2 separate regions of the Homo sapiens genome follow, and region 2 is linked to region 1. Evidence: promoter capture Hi-C in 16 types of primary human blood cells and fetal thymus (Javierre and others, 2016). All regions are on one chromosome and are shown on one strand. Each heading gives the region's core, a stretch centred on a gene start or on the middle of the fragment in contact. The rest is flanking DNA. Distances are from core to core; before and after follow the strand shown.

The links. The method cuts DNA at HindIII sites, captures the fragments that hold promoters and counts their contacts. A CHiCAGO score of 5 or more calls a contact.
Region 2: a contact is called between a fragment that was not itself captured here and the fragment with the promoter of BIRC3 in region 1, in 2 of 17 cell types (M2 macrophages and M1 macrophages). The highest score is 5.5, in M2 macrophages.

Annotation. Positions count from the first base shown.
Region 1 is chr11:102,313,317-102,320,668 of GRCh38, forward strand. BIRC3 (baculoviral IAP repeat containing 3) reads left to right here and starts at 4,168. Exons shown (of 9, transcript NM_001165.5): 1 at 4,168-4,255. It overlaps LOC124902739 (a long non-coding RNA gene), which reads right to left and starts at 3,927. Exons shown (of 2, transcript XR_007062864.1): 1 at 3,770-3,927; 2 at 2,579-3,256. It also overlaps the pseudogene RNU6-952P. RefSeq lists enhancers at 3,615-4,814, 3,719-3,788, 3,799-4,158, 4,960-5,159, 5,420-5,469 and 2 more. The HindIII fragment of the contact is 7,438 bases long and covers 1-6,855 here.
Region 2 is chr11:102,928,599-102,935,950 of GRCh38, forward strand. No RefSeq gene overlaps it. Among named protein-coding and RNA genes, the nearest start is that of MMP13, 23 kb to the right of the region's middle. The HindIII fragment of the contact is 1,728 bases long and covers 3,008-4,735 here.

The DNA of each region.
Region 1 (7,352 bases), core at 2,918-5,417:
ACATCGCAAGGCTCTGTCTCTATAAAAAATACAAAAATTAGCCAAGCATGGTAGCCCGTGACTGTAGTCAGAACTACTCAGGAGGCTGAGATGGGAGGATTGATTGAGCCCAGTAGGTTGAGGTTATAGTGAGCTGAGATTGTGCCACCGCATTTCAGCCTGGGTGACATTTCAGCCTGAGAACAAGGCTCTGTCTCAAAAAAATAAAAATGAGAAAACAACAACAAAAAAACCACAAACAAACCTAGAAAACTGAAGATAGTAATGGCTATACAGTTTGTGTCTAGCTTTCACTTTCCTCAAAGGTTTCCTTGTGTATTTCTGTCGTGAAAAGAGTATTTGGAGCTTGGAATTCACTGGCTTGGAAGAAAATAAGAGTATTTGGAGAGAAAATATATTTAGGCTGTGCTTGCTTTGGCAGCACATATACTAAAATTGGAACCCTACCAAGAAGATTAGCATGCCCCCTGCACAAGGATAACAGCTGGATGTTGAAAGGAAAAGAGGAGTTTTTTTAATAAAGTATGTGAGATATACAAAGAGTTAGAAAGAAAATGCAAGGTAGGTTACACCATTAAAGATGTGGATGCAGGTTTAGAATAGAGAAAGCCCAAGTGGATAGTTTGGATAGATTGGCTCTATTTTTGTTAGTCAGTAAACAAAGGTTTACTGAGCACCTTTGAGCAGACACTCTACTAGTACTAGAATAATGCAGTGAACAAATATATACAGTGCTTGCCCATACACATTTATCTAGGGAAACCATTTTTTTTTTAATTGTGCAAAATGTTGCAAAGCAGACATGTTAATTTGCTTCCAACCTACTAGGCCTGACCCTAGCTCTCATGACCAGTTTGAAAAACGCGAGACTCAGTCAATTCAGGGATTTCTTAAGCCATGGTCTTTATTTATTTTTATTTATTTACTTTTTTGGCAATGGATTCTTGCTCTCTCTCCCAGGCTGGAGTGCAGTAGCGAGATCTCAGCTCACTGTAACCTCTGCCTCCCCGGGTTCAAGCAATTCTCCTGCCTCAGCCTCCCAAGTAGCTGGGATTACAGGCACCTGCCACCATGACCCGCTTATCTTTGTATTTTTAGTAGAAATGGGGTTTTGCCATGTTGACCAGGCTGGTCTCGAACTCCTGACCTCCGGTGATCCACACACCTCAGCCTCCCAAAGTGCTGGGATTACAGGTGTGAGCCAATGTGCCTGGCCAGCCATAGTTTTTAAACTGGGGTAAGTGTGCCCCTGGGTGTTTACAAAGACTTACCAACAGGGAGGTGGGAGCTCAAATAGTTTTAAGGAATTAATAGTCTCACTCTCAACTTCCATATGTAGCTTCTCCCAAAACTGATCTGCTTGAAAACAAGAACTGTGAAGGTTGCCAGGGTTGTTCTGTCTTCTCATCTCCCTTTTCACAATGGTTCTCTGTCTTCCCTTAAAAGACAGGCTCACCTCTCACCTATCATGAGTTTTAAAATCGTATATTTCTCTGGGTGTAGAAACCTCCTGGATGATTTGAAATAATCGATCTGTATTAGTGTTGAGAAAATGAATGACTCTAATATCTGGATATAGGGTTGCCAGGTAAAATACAGAACACCAAACTGAATCTAAATTTCAGATAACTAATGAATAACTTATTAGTATAGCTAGGTGCCAAATATTGCACAATACATTCTTATACTGGAAATGCATTCATTGTTTATATTAAACCAAAATTTAACTAGGTGTTCTCTGTTTTAATTTGCTAACTCTGTCAACTGTATCTGGATACCAAAAGTTCAGTGGTTTCTAAACCACCAATTTCAACAAAATTGAGTTGTCTACTGATAAGTAATTACATATTTTGATTAGAGATCACTAAATGATTTTTGGAATATAAAACATATTTTTTAAATTGTGAAAAAATTGCCATAATAATGTTTCTTCTGGGCCTATCTACTTATCTACTTACTTCTGTGAAATAAGGTTTACAACATTTATGTCTGTAGAAATGAAAAAAGGAACAGAATCTGTGCTGAACCCTAACATATTATAGCTATAGGTAATATTCATGACTGCACACTTGAAAAACTTGCTTAAAATACAAGCTGCCACCCCCTTAAATTGTATTTGTAATGCAGTTATTAACATTTACGATATTTTTATATTGTATTGACCAATTATGCTTTAAAAGTAATGAAAACAATATCAATGATAATGTAATCAAAGAGGATTTTTTTTTTTTTTTTTTGAGATGCAGTCTCACTCTGTTCCAGGGCTGGAGTGCAGTGGCACTGTCTTGACTCATTGCAACCTCTGCCTCCCAGGTTCAAGTGATTCTTGTGCCTCAGCCTCCCAAGTAGCTGGGACTACAGGCGTGCACCACCACACTTGGCTCATTTTTGTATTTTTGGGAGAGACCGGTTTCACCATGTTGGCCAGACTGGTCTTGAACTCCTGACCTCAGATGATCCACCCACCTTCGCCTCCCAAAGTGCTGGTATTATAGGCGTGAGCCACCATGCCTGGTCAAAGAGGAATTTTTTTTTTTTTTAACACTTAGATCCTTATGATCCCAGAGAAAAAAATAGATTTCAAGTTCTAATATGTATTTGTTTCAGAGATATGTGACAGAGAGATGATAAAAGATGTTCAGTACAAACATGTATTAACATTCTGTAGGGGAATTGGAATGTTCAATGACAAAAGGCAATGATAAAATATTTTCAGTTATTAAAGATGACCTGATAATTGCTTCATGGATGATCATGTATGTCAAATTACTATGGTATTAGGATCCATCAAATACATTTAAAAGAGTGCTCTATCAATTTTTTCTGAAAATATCTATGTTTACATTTTGTAGATTCTTGACATGTACAAGAGCTTTATGTTTTAATGTTAAGTTAAAAATGGGCAAGGGAATGCAGAGCTTTTCAAAATTCTTCTGGTGAGTACATAATCAAAAATGTGTAAGGCCTGCAAATTATTTTCAATAATCTCAGGAGTGAGTTGAAAATGGCTTAGAAAGTCTTGATTGAAGCAGACTCAAATGTGGATTAAAATCTCCATATGATAAATACACTTAGTCTTTCTGAAATAATTCCAACTGGAACTTCAGCTGCTATGGACAGCCAAGTCCACCTAAACAAGAGGATGCCTCAGCTCAGTCCAATTGCGTGCAGAATGCACTGGATGCTGTTTCCACAGAACGATGAAGTCTCCAATAATCTTTATGGGCTCTGTCTCTGGTTGGTAATTGTCTTTGATCTACTGGAAGATAGAAAATCAGATGAGCTCTCCAAATCCATCTGTTACCCTGGTACGGATGGCTCTCAGATAAAGTTGCTTAAATTTACTGCTTAGAGAACGTTGAGGGAAATATGGCAGTGCAATTAGACTCAAAGATGTCAGGTTTCCCTGAGAATGGCACTGCAACTCAGAAACCTGCCCTGTGAGATCAAAGGCTATAAAGGAGGGATTTTTTTAAGTAGCCAACTCCACCCTACTTATTAAAAAAAAAAAAAAAACAACTCACCAAACCAAACAAAAGTATTTCCATACAGAAAATTTACCAAGCCATTTCAATCTTTAAAATGGTAAAATAAACTGCAAAGGAGAACTGCATGATTTTTTTCACATACCCCTACATTTCCTTTCACCTCTTACTTTCTTGATCAGAACAAAAAGTAAAAATAAATAGAAATATTTCACAAAGTTTCGATTTTTTTTTTTTTAAATGCTGGACTTCTGCAGCTATAGTAGAAGATTGAAAAACCTAACCTTTTTACGTGTAAAGTGTATGGCGGATGGAGGGTGGAGAACAGGGCATATTGACCTTTTCCAGGCAGGCTAAGCAATGATCGTCCTCTCTATATGGGTTGTTATCAAGATTTCCTCTGACCCACGAGCAATGAAGCAAATGTCTTTCAGTAAATGCCGCGAAGATATGCCACGGTTAAGAGTCATGCTTTTGGGTCATGGAAATCCCCGAGTGGGTTTGCCAGGCCACTGATTAAGAGGAAGTGTGTGTGGTTATTACCGCTGGAGTTCCCCTAAGTCCTAAAAGGAAAGCACCAGTGCACATGCAAACCACTGGGAGGAGTGCGGAACGCCTGGTACAGATAGGGGTGGGGATTTGGGTGACGCATTTAAAAGACAGCGTGAGACTCGCGCCCTCCGGCACGGAAAAGGCCAGGCGACAGGTGTCGCTTGAAAAGACTGGGCTTGTCCTTGCTGGTGCATGCGTCGTCGGCCTCTGGGCAGCAGGTGGGCAAGGAAGGCTGGTGTGTGTGTGTGTGTGTGTGCGTGTGTGTGTGTGTATGTGTGCGCGCGCGCGCGCCTCCCCTGGTGTAAGAGATGTGCCAGCGGCTGGCCGAGGGGCGCTTAGGGCTAGAGCCCGGGGCGCTGCAGAGGTTGAGAGTCAGTGGGTGGGGCGCAGTTATCAAACACCAGGGCCCAAAAGCAGGCTCTAGATAGGTTCCAGGTGCTCAATTTCTATTTCACGTTTGGAGTGAGCCAGTGGAATTGTGAAGTTGTGGCATTTTGATTCGGTTGCCAAGAGTTATCACTGGGCCTTTGCAGGTGCCAAATAAATTTCAGGACAGAGCCTAAGGCAGAGCTCTGGCACAGGAAGGAAGTAAAACGTTTAATGAGCAAATGGACGCATGTTTCCAAGCGGTGGTAGGAAGACAGCAGTTTTTGGTTGTCTTCCTGGTGATCAGCATGGAAACCTAGTAGTGCTCTTACTCTGATCAATACATTGTCGAAGGCATGTACCTGATGCTAACGTAACAATAATATTAAATATTGACTTTATTTGCTATTATTTATTGCTAACATTAAGTACTGCTACCTGCTATGTGCTAGGTTTGTCTCTGAAGACTTTACATGTATTTTTCACGTTTAATTATCATAATCTTAAGAAGCAGGTACCATAATTATCTCCATTTGACAATGAGGAAACTGAGGCTCTTGGAGATTTACTTGTGCAAGGTCATGCTTCTGGTTACCGGACTGCTTGGTATTGGGCACCCCCGATGTCTGACTCCAAAGCCTGATACTAATCAATCACTGAGCTGACTCTGTGGTCATTAATATAAAATTGATAGAAGTACTGTGGTCACTCAGGTCTCAGTCATTTACTTCTTCAACGGGAAGTCTTCGTGTCTACCCCATATACCAAGCTCTGCAGATGCTATGAGTGGGAGGGCAGGTACAGAGATGAAACATATTAATAGTTGCCATTCTAAAAGAGCTTACTGTCTAGCGGGAGGCAGAAAGAAAAGGCACACTTGCCCTCCAGTGTCAGAAAAATGGATGTGCTGCATGCCCAAAGGGTAGGGATGCCCAACAGCCCTGGGACTGGGGAGGTTGCCTTCTTGGTAGGTTAAATGAATGAGTCAGAAGAGGAGAGGCTGGGGACTGAGCCAATCTGAGAAGGAACCACTAGAAATGAAAGAAGAATCCCAAGAGCTTGGTATCAGAGAAGCCCAGGGAATGGGACATTTCTAAGAGGAAGTGTGTCCCAGTGTCAGATGCAAACATTTCCATTGGTTTTAGCAAAAAAGCCATTGGTGTTATTAACACCGAAAGCAGTTTTAAGTGATGCTGACTTAATGAGTAAATGGGAGAGGGAAAATGGAGACATTAACCATACACACATGTCCAGTTTGCTTGGCTGTGAAGAGAAGGGGTGATACAGGGTAGTTGCTAGAGTGGAAAGTGTGGTTGAAAGAGGATTTTTTTTTTTTTTTTTTGAGACAGAGTCTCACTCTGTCACCCAGGCTGGAGTGCAGTGGTGCAGTCTCGGCTTACTGCAACCTCCACCTCCCGGGTTCAAGCGATTCTCCTGCCTCAGCCTCCTGAGCAGCTGGGACTACAGGTGCATGCCACCACACCCGGCTAATTTTTTGTATTTTTTTTAGTAGAGACGGGGTTTCACCGTGTTAGCCAGGATGGTCTCAGTCTCCTGACCTCGTGATCCACTCGCCTCAGCCTCCTGAAGTGCTGGGATTACAGGCATGAGCCACCACACCCGGCCGAAAGAGAATTTTAAAAATTTCTTTCATTTGAAAGTTGAGATAGATTTAAGCATGGTTATGTGAAAGGAAAAAGGCCAGTCGAGAGTGACAGGAATGAGAGTTGAAGCAATGAGGGGATGGGATTAAGAACAAGATTTCTGAGGCAGTAGGACAGTGTAGGATCCCATAAGGGGGCAAGTCTTTAACTGAGACAGCAAGTAGGTTGTGAGCCAAAACGGCTTGGATATGAGAACGTGAGAAGGTTCCTGCTCAATGATGTCTCTTTTCTTTGAGAAACAGAAGGCAAAGTAATTGACTGAAAATGAGATGGAGTGCAGTGGAGAAATTTGAGGAAGGTGTTGAAGGTTTAGAAGAGGTGCATAGGGCATGGGCTAGGGAGCTGAGCCTATTGCTAAGGGATGGCAGAGGAGTCTTAAGTGATGCTGGTCCCAGTCTGCAGGGTTGCATCTAGGTGTTGGAAATGATTAGGACAGAGGTTGAAGTGATCTAGGGTTGACATCTTGGCATATTTGTGTATATTTATTGTATAGTTGTTGCCTAAATTTCCACAAATATATGCCTTGCTGGAGTGCAGTGGTGTGATCTTGGCTTACTGCAACCTTCACCTCCCGGGTTCAAGTGATTCTCCTGCTTCAGTCTCCTGAGTAGCTGGAAATACAGGTGCGTGCCACCACGCCCGATGGTTTTTTTTTTTGGATTTTTAGTAGAGACAGGGTTTCACCATGTTGGCCAGCCTGGTCTCGAACTCCTGATCTCAAGTTATCTGCTTTCCTTGGCCTCCCAAAGTGCTGGGATTACAGGCGTGAGCCACCACGCCTGACCTAAAGCTTCTTTAGGATAAGATTTGTGTAAGGGGTTTGCAAACTCAAATGGAGGTGATATAAATGAGAAAAACTCTCAGTGTCTCTCTTTCTCTCTCTCTCTCTTTTTTTGAGACAGGGTCTTGCTCTGTCACCCAGTTTGGAGTGCAGTTATGCAGTCTCACACTGCAAGCTCTGCCTCATGGGCTCAAGTGAACCTCCTGCCTCAGCCTCTCAAGTAGCTGGGACCACAGGCAGGTGCCACCATGTCTGGCTAATTTTTGAGTTTCTTTGTAGAGATGGTGTTTTGCCAAGTCACCCAGTTTGAGGCTGGTCTCAAACACCTGGGCTCAAGCAATCCATCTACCTCAGCCTCCCAAAGTGCTGGGATTACAGGAGTGAGCCATGGCATGAGGCCTTGTGGGGTGTCTCTTTTAAATGAAAGCATACTCTGTTTACGTATTTGATATGAAGGAATATCCTTCCTTTCCACAAAGACAAAAATTATCCTATTTTTCTCAA
Region 2 (7,352 bases), core at 2,622-5,121, 610 kb after region 1:
GGAATGAGCTTGATAGGTGGGAAGAACAGAAAGGCACCAACGTGGTCAAAGAACAGGGAAAAAATTAGGAGATAAGTGACAAGAGGTGAGTGACATCGGTGACGCAAATTGGGACCAATCAGGCACTGTCTTGCTTTGTGAAGTTCAGTGTCACCACCAAGAACTTCAAATGGAGAGTTGCAACCACCACTCAAAATTCAGATCAAGATTGGGCTAGAGATACAGCCTTAAGAGGCAGTGTCTTCTCAGGAAAGAGCCATTGGAAATGCCAGAAGTGCATTAAGCAGGAAAAGGCAGGATGACAAGGAGAAAGAAAAGGCCTGAAGAGAGAAACTTAGAGAACATTTATGGGAAAGCAGAAGAAAAAAATCTCAGAACTAAGAGAACTAAGCAAAACACCAATTAAGTGTGACCTTACAGAAGCCATGGATGCCAGGACCTTTGAAAAGTGGGCAGATGTCAGCAGCGTCAAAAGCTTCCACCCCTAACCATTCCCTGATGTCCAAAAATAGTCAAAGACATGAGGAATAAAGACTCTTATGCTTGACAATTAAAGAAACACAGCTATTCAGAAAACCTTGGAAAGCACAGTCTCAGTAGGATAGTAGGGCTTTGGGTTGAAGCCACGTAACAAGGATTGGATGAATTAATTACATGTCAGAAGTAGACTCAGTGCAGTTCATGAACTATGCCTCGAGCACTGACATGTGCTATAACAGCATTTGACATTGGGGTAGAGAGATAGGAAAAGAATCATCAACAATAGGAGACAACTAGTGCCTCCACCCTCAAGTAACATATTATCTAGAAGAGAGAGGGAGAGGAAAGCTGAGGACAGTGTGAGAGTCTGTCAGAATCAAATGCATTCACTACTCATGCCCCCAGAAGTTTACTGTTTAATGTGGCAATGATGAACCTGTTCAGGTTACCATTTCTGTGGCGGCTTTGAGTCCTTTAGAAACATTGGCACCATCATTGTGTTGTAAAATTTGTGTGTTATGTGGAGCCTCATAGTTCCATATCAGGGTCAAGCTTCAATCCAATTTGGTTCAGAACGTTCTATGTAAAAGGCAGAGCTGTAGGCACAAGATGTGATCCCACAATGCTTCTGCAAGCTAATGGGAGACACAAATGCTGGAAGAAAAGTAAAAGCAATGTGCTTTGTAGAAGAGGAAAAGAGAATTCTATCTGAACGTGTAAGGTCGGCTAGGCCTTTAGTAAGCACTCTTCTCCAGTCAGTAAAATTGATAGAGCGCAATTTTATCATTGGTAACAGAATAGAGGGGTCCCCGCCTATCTTGCTCATTCAACTAGGCTTAAGGACAACCTAGGGGATACTCAAATGTTTGCCCACTGAAATAGCAGTGTCTTAGAGTCACACTAGACTAGGGGTCTATACGCTTCATCACCCTCTCCTTCTCAATCCTCTGGATTGTATTACATTTACTGGAACTGGAGCTTCATGGCAAAACAGATTTTCCAAAATGGTTAATAAATTACATATATTACCACATGAAAGGCAAGGAAGGCTGTGAGTGAGTAATAATGTCTAGGTTACTAATTAAACATGTGCTTGCTTTAAAGCTTTTCTCTGTAATAAGGTTTATTACAGTATAATTGATTTTCCTTTCCCACAAGTTAATCATTTTAAAACCACAAATGAACTACAAGATTCAGCTTGTTCCAGGGCTGTATTTTCCCTGTCTAGTTTGTACTGGCTTAGACATCATGTAATGACAGAAGTCTTTTTCTAAATTTATTGGTACAACACCTTAAAGATCCTAATTCCAAAGTCAAAAGGTTTTGAAGAAACAGATTTTAAAGAACTACCAAAAACTGAAGAAAGGGACAAAATATTTATTAGTCTAGAAAATCTGAAAGATGCTTTTCTATATAATAAATGAGTTCTAAATATGCCATATGAACTTGCTGTGCCTCTATTCCTTCCTGTTAGTGTTTGTTACTTTATGATTCCTTCAGTTTAAATGTGAGGAGGTATAAGTGAATTCATTCAGAGATGATTTGAACAATAACTTCCAGTGATGCAAGCCAAACTCCCCATTGCTTAGCACTTAGCCTTTGGAGATCTTAGAAGATAGTAGGAATGTAAGAAGGAAGGAAGGATGGAAGGAAGGAAGGAAGGGAGGGAGGAAGGAAGGAAGGAAGGAAGGAAGGAAGGAAGGAAAGGGAGGGAGGGGAGGAAAGAAGGAAAAAAGGGAAGGAGGGAGAGGGAGCTGGGATCTAGGAATAACCAATAATACTTCATGTTAATACATACTTTATCATTTACATGTTTCAAGGATGCTATTTTATATAATCTTTAGAGCAACCTGTGAGGTAGGCAAGGCAAGTATTTCTATCTTCATTTTAATGCACAAGAATGTGAAATACAGAGGTGCTTGAAAGTGCTAGAGCTCAAATTCAAACTTTGATATTTTATTTTTTTGGCATTACTGTGCTGCATTATCACATTTGACAGCTGTGCTGCTGTGGCCAAAACACCAAAAGAAATTCTGGGTATCTCCAGAGAGGGAATTTAAATGTGTATCTTTGGGTCTGCAGAGGCTGTGGGACCACCTCTAGTCTTGGGCTGTCGATCTTCCAGTCGCTGTGCTCTAGGGCTCATGTGCTCTTATTGTGGTCCATGCTGCAGGAAAATAGGACTAGGTGGATGTAATAGCTCCCCTGATGAGCACACACATACACACACGCTCCAGACAGCATATTCCACTTCTGCACTGTTTAATGTGTACTCATTTGGGGTGGGAGGCACATCTCCCAAGTGCCCTTTGGGCACAGCAGTTTGTAGCAGGGTGAATAGCTGCAGAATATGCAGTCTTTTCTTTCTCTTATTCCATTCCAAGGCCCCTTATTTCCTCCCATTTCTCTTCCCTTTCTCCTTGCACACTGTAATCAGCTTCTGTTGTCTAAACCCTCCTCTAAGCCAGTGACCAGCATTTCATACACAGGGGTGTTTCTGAGTCAGAATAAGACCATGAACCTGGGAAGCTTTGTAGCCAACATGACTCTCACCAAAGCAGAAAACCTGCTAGATTCATTCAAGGTCCTACAGCCAGCCCTGGCCTGCGGGTGATCATCACAGTCACCTCGTCACCATAGCTCAGGTACAGGAACCATCACAACGGGGACTGCCAGCCTGGGAGGGCATGCCAAAGTCGCTATCCTTTGTCACAGGTAAAAGATGAAACTACTCAGTGCCACACAGATAAAATGAGTCTCTGTCTTAACAGAGCGGTTGTCTAGGGATTGTAGTAGAACTATACTACCTCGGAGAGAAGCTACACGGGGAGTCACTGGAATACTGGAAGTTTTTGCACTTTCATTGAGGGTAAGAAGGGAGACCCAATTAATTTCAGGGGCCTGTTATTTCCCAGACTACTCTGCCCTTGGTCACCAAGTATGTTGCCAGTGGTCAGCAACCATGAGAATGTACCTACTTTGCCATGGGAATGATGTGTAACCCTAGGTGGTAAAATTATATAGATCAAATAATCTGATATCTTGCAACTCTAACCTGCCAGTCAATTTATATGATGAACTAAATATGTCCTGCTACTTTTAATTTTTTTTTCTTTTGAAGTGTCTTTTGTATGTTATTCTGGCACTTTTTACTTAAACTTCTCACATGAGTGGCTTGGCTCAGTTTTAAACCTAAACCTAATTTTAGTTCCTCCCTGAGAAATATACCAACAACCTCAGTAATCAGAATTGACTTGCTATATACACAGTATTGCTATCCCTAGTGAATTAGGAAGGAATGAACAAAAACTCAGAGTTAAATTTTATTTTAAGAAATTTGGACGACAGTTTTATTAATGGTAGCTTGCCCACCTCCTGAGAGCTCCAGCTATGGGAATTAGCCTAGAGGGGATATACAGAGAGCCTTCTCAAACTTGACTCAATTCTGATGATTGTGATTTCATGTTCAGTAACATACATTCAGCTGGTATAAAACTATGCTTCTACAGGGTGTGTTTTTACCCCCAGGTCCAAAGTCTTAATCCTTCTTCACTAAGTAAAGAATCATCAATGACTATACCACTGAAGGGAACACCTTAAAGTATCTTCTTCCTTTTCTCGAGGAGGAATTGGGAGTTGATAGCATCAACTGTCAGTTACTACTGGAGCTGGCAGAGAGATATGAACATATCCTCCGGATAGCGTGAGACACGTTTCAGTGATCTAAGGGTATGGCCATGTCGATGTGCTGTCTGTGGAATGACTACATACACTCCACGTGGTTTTAAAAGAATGGGTTAAGGCTCAAGAGGATTTGGTGTTTTCAGCAACTCTATGAATCCTCAGAGTTGATTCAATTACTGATGTAGAAATAAAGGCAGGCATATGTTTGGAAAAAATGACTACCTTGTACTTCAGCTGACTGGGTCATATGGCATGGCCAAGTTGTGTAAGTATGGGAGTAAATAGGTTCAGGGAAGCATTGGATGTCGACACTTTTTGTCTGTGCCCACTTGAGGATCCAGCAAGATTTTAGTCTCAGATGTTTTATGTCCCAAGTACAGTGCTTCCATCATCCCATCTGGTCTTCACCTTTCCCTGAGAGAAATTCCTGATGACTGGCTAATATTCTTTGTATTTTAGAAACCACTGGGTCGTTCCCCCTTGGCTTTGTATATGCTCAGGAAATACAGATGAATTTTAAAACTAGCCTAACTAAGATATCTAGTAAAAGAAAAACTGTTTCCTCAAACAAAGCTTAAACTTTATTCTGTGGACCAATAATAATGCATCTTTTCTTGGGCATTTGTTCCTGTTTCCTAAGCCACCATATTCCCATGCCAATAATCACCATTAGTGTGGATAGTTCAGTAGTTGGCTAAAAGGTCGAATGGTCTTCACAAAGGGCAGAAGGATCTTCTGATTCCACCACCCATCGAGGAAGGACCCTCTGTTTGTCCAGAACCAAATGAAGGGAGGCAAGACTTATTAGTTGCAAATAAAAAAAACCATGATTCATGTTTTTAGTTTTAATTCTAGATTTTTTTTTGAATTTTTAAAACAGAACTTTATGTCCTCAAAAATACACAGTAGATATACGAACACTTAATTATTTGACTAAACTGAGAAGTGGCCCTGAGGTTGTACAGACAGAGGAAGTACTTGAGGACCACTGCTGTAAACCTGAAAGAATGACTTCAGATACTGGTGTTGAGGGTGAGGTTTGTGTGTGATTTCGTGAGACCTCTCACCCATACCTCTACCACACATGACCCACTTTTACCGCCATCTTCAGGATTGAGGAAGTAGCAGCTATGACTTACTGAGCACTTGCTATGTGCCAAGGAGTCTGCTAAGTGCTGTAGATCCATTCTTTCAGTTTAGTGCATAGTTCTAGAGGTAGAATGGCTGGGTTCAAATCCCAGTTCTTCCACATACTGGTTGTGTGACCTAGGGCAAGTCTCTTCACCTCTCTGTGCTTTCTTCCTCACTCATAAGAACAAAAATAGAACTTTTGTGACAATAAGTTAATTAATGTATGTGAAGCATGTAAACATCCCTGGCACATAGAAAAGTATACATGTTTGTTACTATTATCAGCCATATTTTAGAAACTGAGACTTGGAGGGGCTACTTAGTTTCTTCAGTGTTTCACATCATTCTTCTGGGAGCAGGTTAAGAACTGCCTTGAGGCTGATTTACATAATGTTTTATAGATAATTTATTGTCTGTATTATCACATTGGCTCCAATTTCTTTACTGCAGCCACCCAGGACCATCCTCATCATCAAACCAATACTCCTGGCTAGGTGTGGTGGCTCACACCTGTAATCTCAGCACTTTGGGAGGCTGAGGCGGGTGGATCACTTGAGCTCAGGAGTTCAAGACAAACCTGACCAAAATGGTGAAACCCCATTTCTACTAAAAAGACAAAAATTAGCCGGTCACAGTGGCATGCGCCTGTAGTCCCAGCTACTCGGGAGGCTGAGGCAGGAGAATGCTTGAACCTGGAAGGCGGAGGTTGCAGTGAGCCGAGATCGCGCCACTGCACTCCAGCGTGGGTGACAGAGCAAGACTCCATCCCCACCCCCAAAAAATAAAAATAAAGAATAAAGAATAAAAAAATAAAATCCAATACTCCTGAAGGTGGAGACTTCAGATTCCAACAGCTTTGTGTTTTCCTCCAACAACTCCTCCACGTTCCTCATTTTGAAAGGAAATAGAAGTGTTGGTAGGCTGGAGTGGTGAAAAGGGCAAAGGAGCAGGACTGTTGTCGAGAGGTCTGGGGTAGATTTAGAATACAGTGAGACAAAAGGAGGCTATTAGATTTAGAAAAGGTGACAGCGCCACCCTGTATTTGGGCCTGCTTTGCTCTCCCCAGGCTGCAGTTCTCTGCAGGTTCAGGGATGTGCCTTCAGATGCCTGTACCCACCCATTTCCTATACTGTCCCTTTCTGTAGCTACGGGTAGCTACTGAGCACTGGAAATGTGGCTGGTCAGAATTCAGATATGCTGTTAAGGATGAAACACACACCAGATTTTGAAGACTTTATGTGAGAAACAGGAGGTAAAACCATCTTTTTAAAAAATCTTCATTAGCTGAGCATGGTGGCTCACGCCTGTAATCCCGGGACTTTGGGAGGCCAAGGCAGGTGGATCACCTGAGGTCAGGAGTTCGAGGCCAGCCTGGCCAACATGGTGAAACCCCATCTCTACTAAAAATACAAAAATTAGCTGGGTGTGATAGTGCACACCTGTAATCCCAGCTATTCAGGAGGCTGAGGCAGAAGAATCGCTTGAACCCAGGAGGTGGAGGTTGCAGTGAGCCGAGATCATGCCACTGTACTCCAGCCTGGGTGACAGAATGAGACTCTGTCTCAAAAAAAAAAAAAAGATAAAATATATCATTTAAGTTCATTTTACCTATTCCTTTTTACTGCTTTTAATGTGGTCACTAGAAAATGTAGACTTCTGCATGTGACTTGTGCTATAGTTCTCTTAGACAGGGCTGCTCTAGACCACAGGTCCCCTGAATTTCCTACTTCCAACGCCTCAGTGGGCCTCTTCCACAGGCTCATTCTCCCAAGGGTGGAACCCCTCAATGATGTGCACACCCCTAGTGGTGGCCAATGGACTACCGGGTCAGCAGATGTGGAGGGACCTATAGGTGGCATGTCCATACCCTTGCACCTAAAGTCCCTTGCAATGCAGAGCAAAGCCAGGGATCGGAAGAGAAGAACCAGCCCAGAGGAGGGGCCTCATAAGTGTCAGGGACAGACCTGGACTCTGGTAAAGGTGGCCTTGAGGAGGTCAAAGAACATGTATTGTTGCAGGAGATGACAGTGAGGGAGCTGGAAGAATAAAGGTTGGGA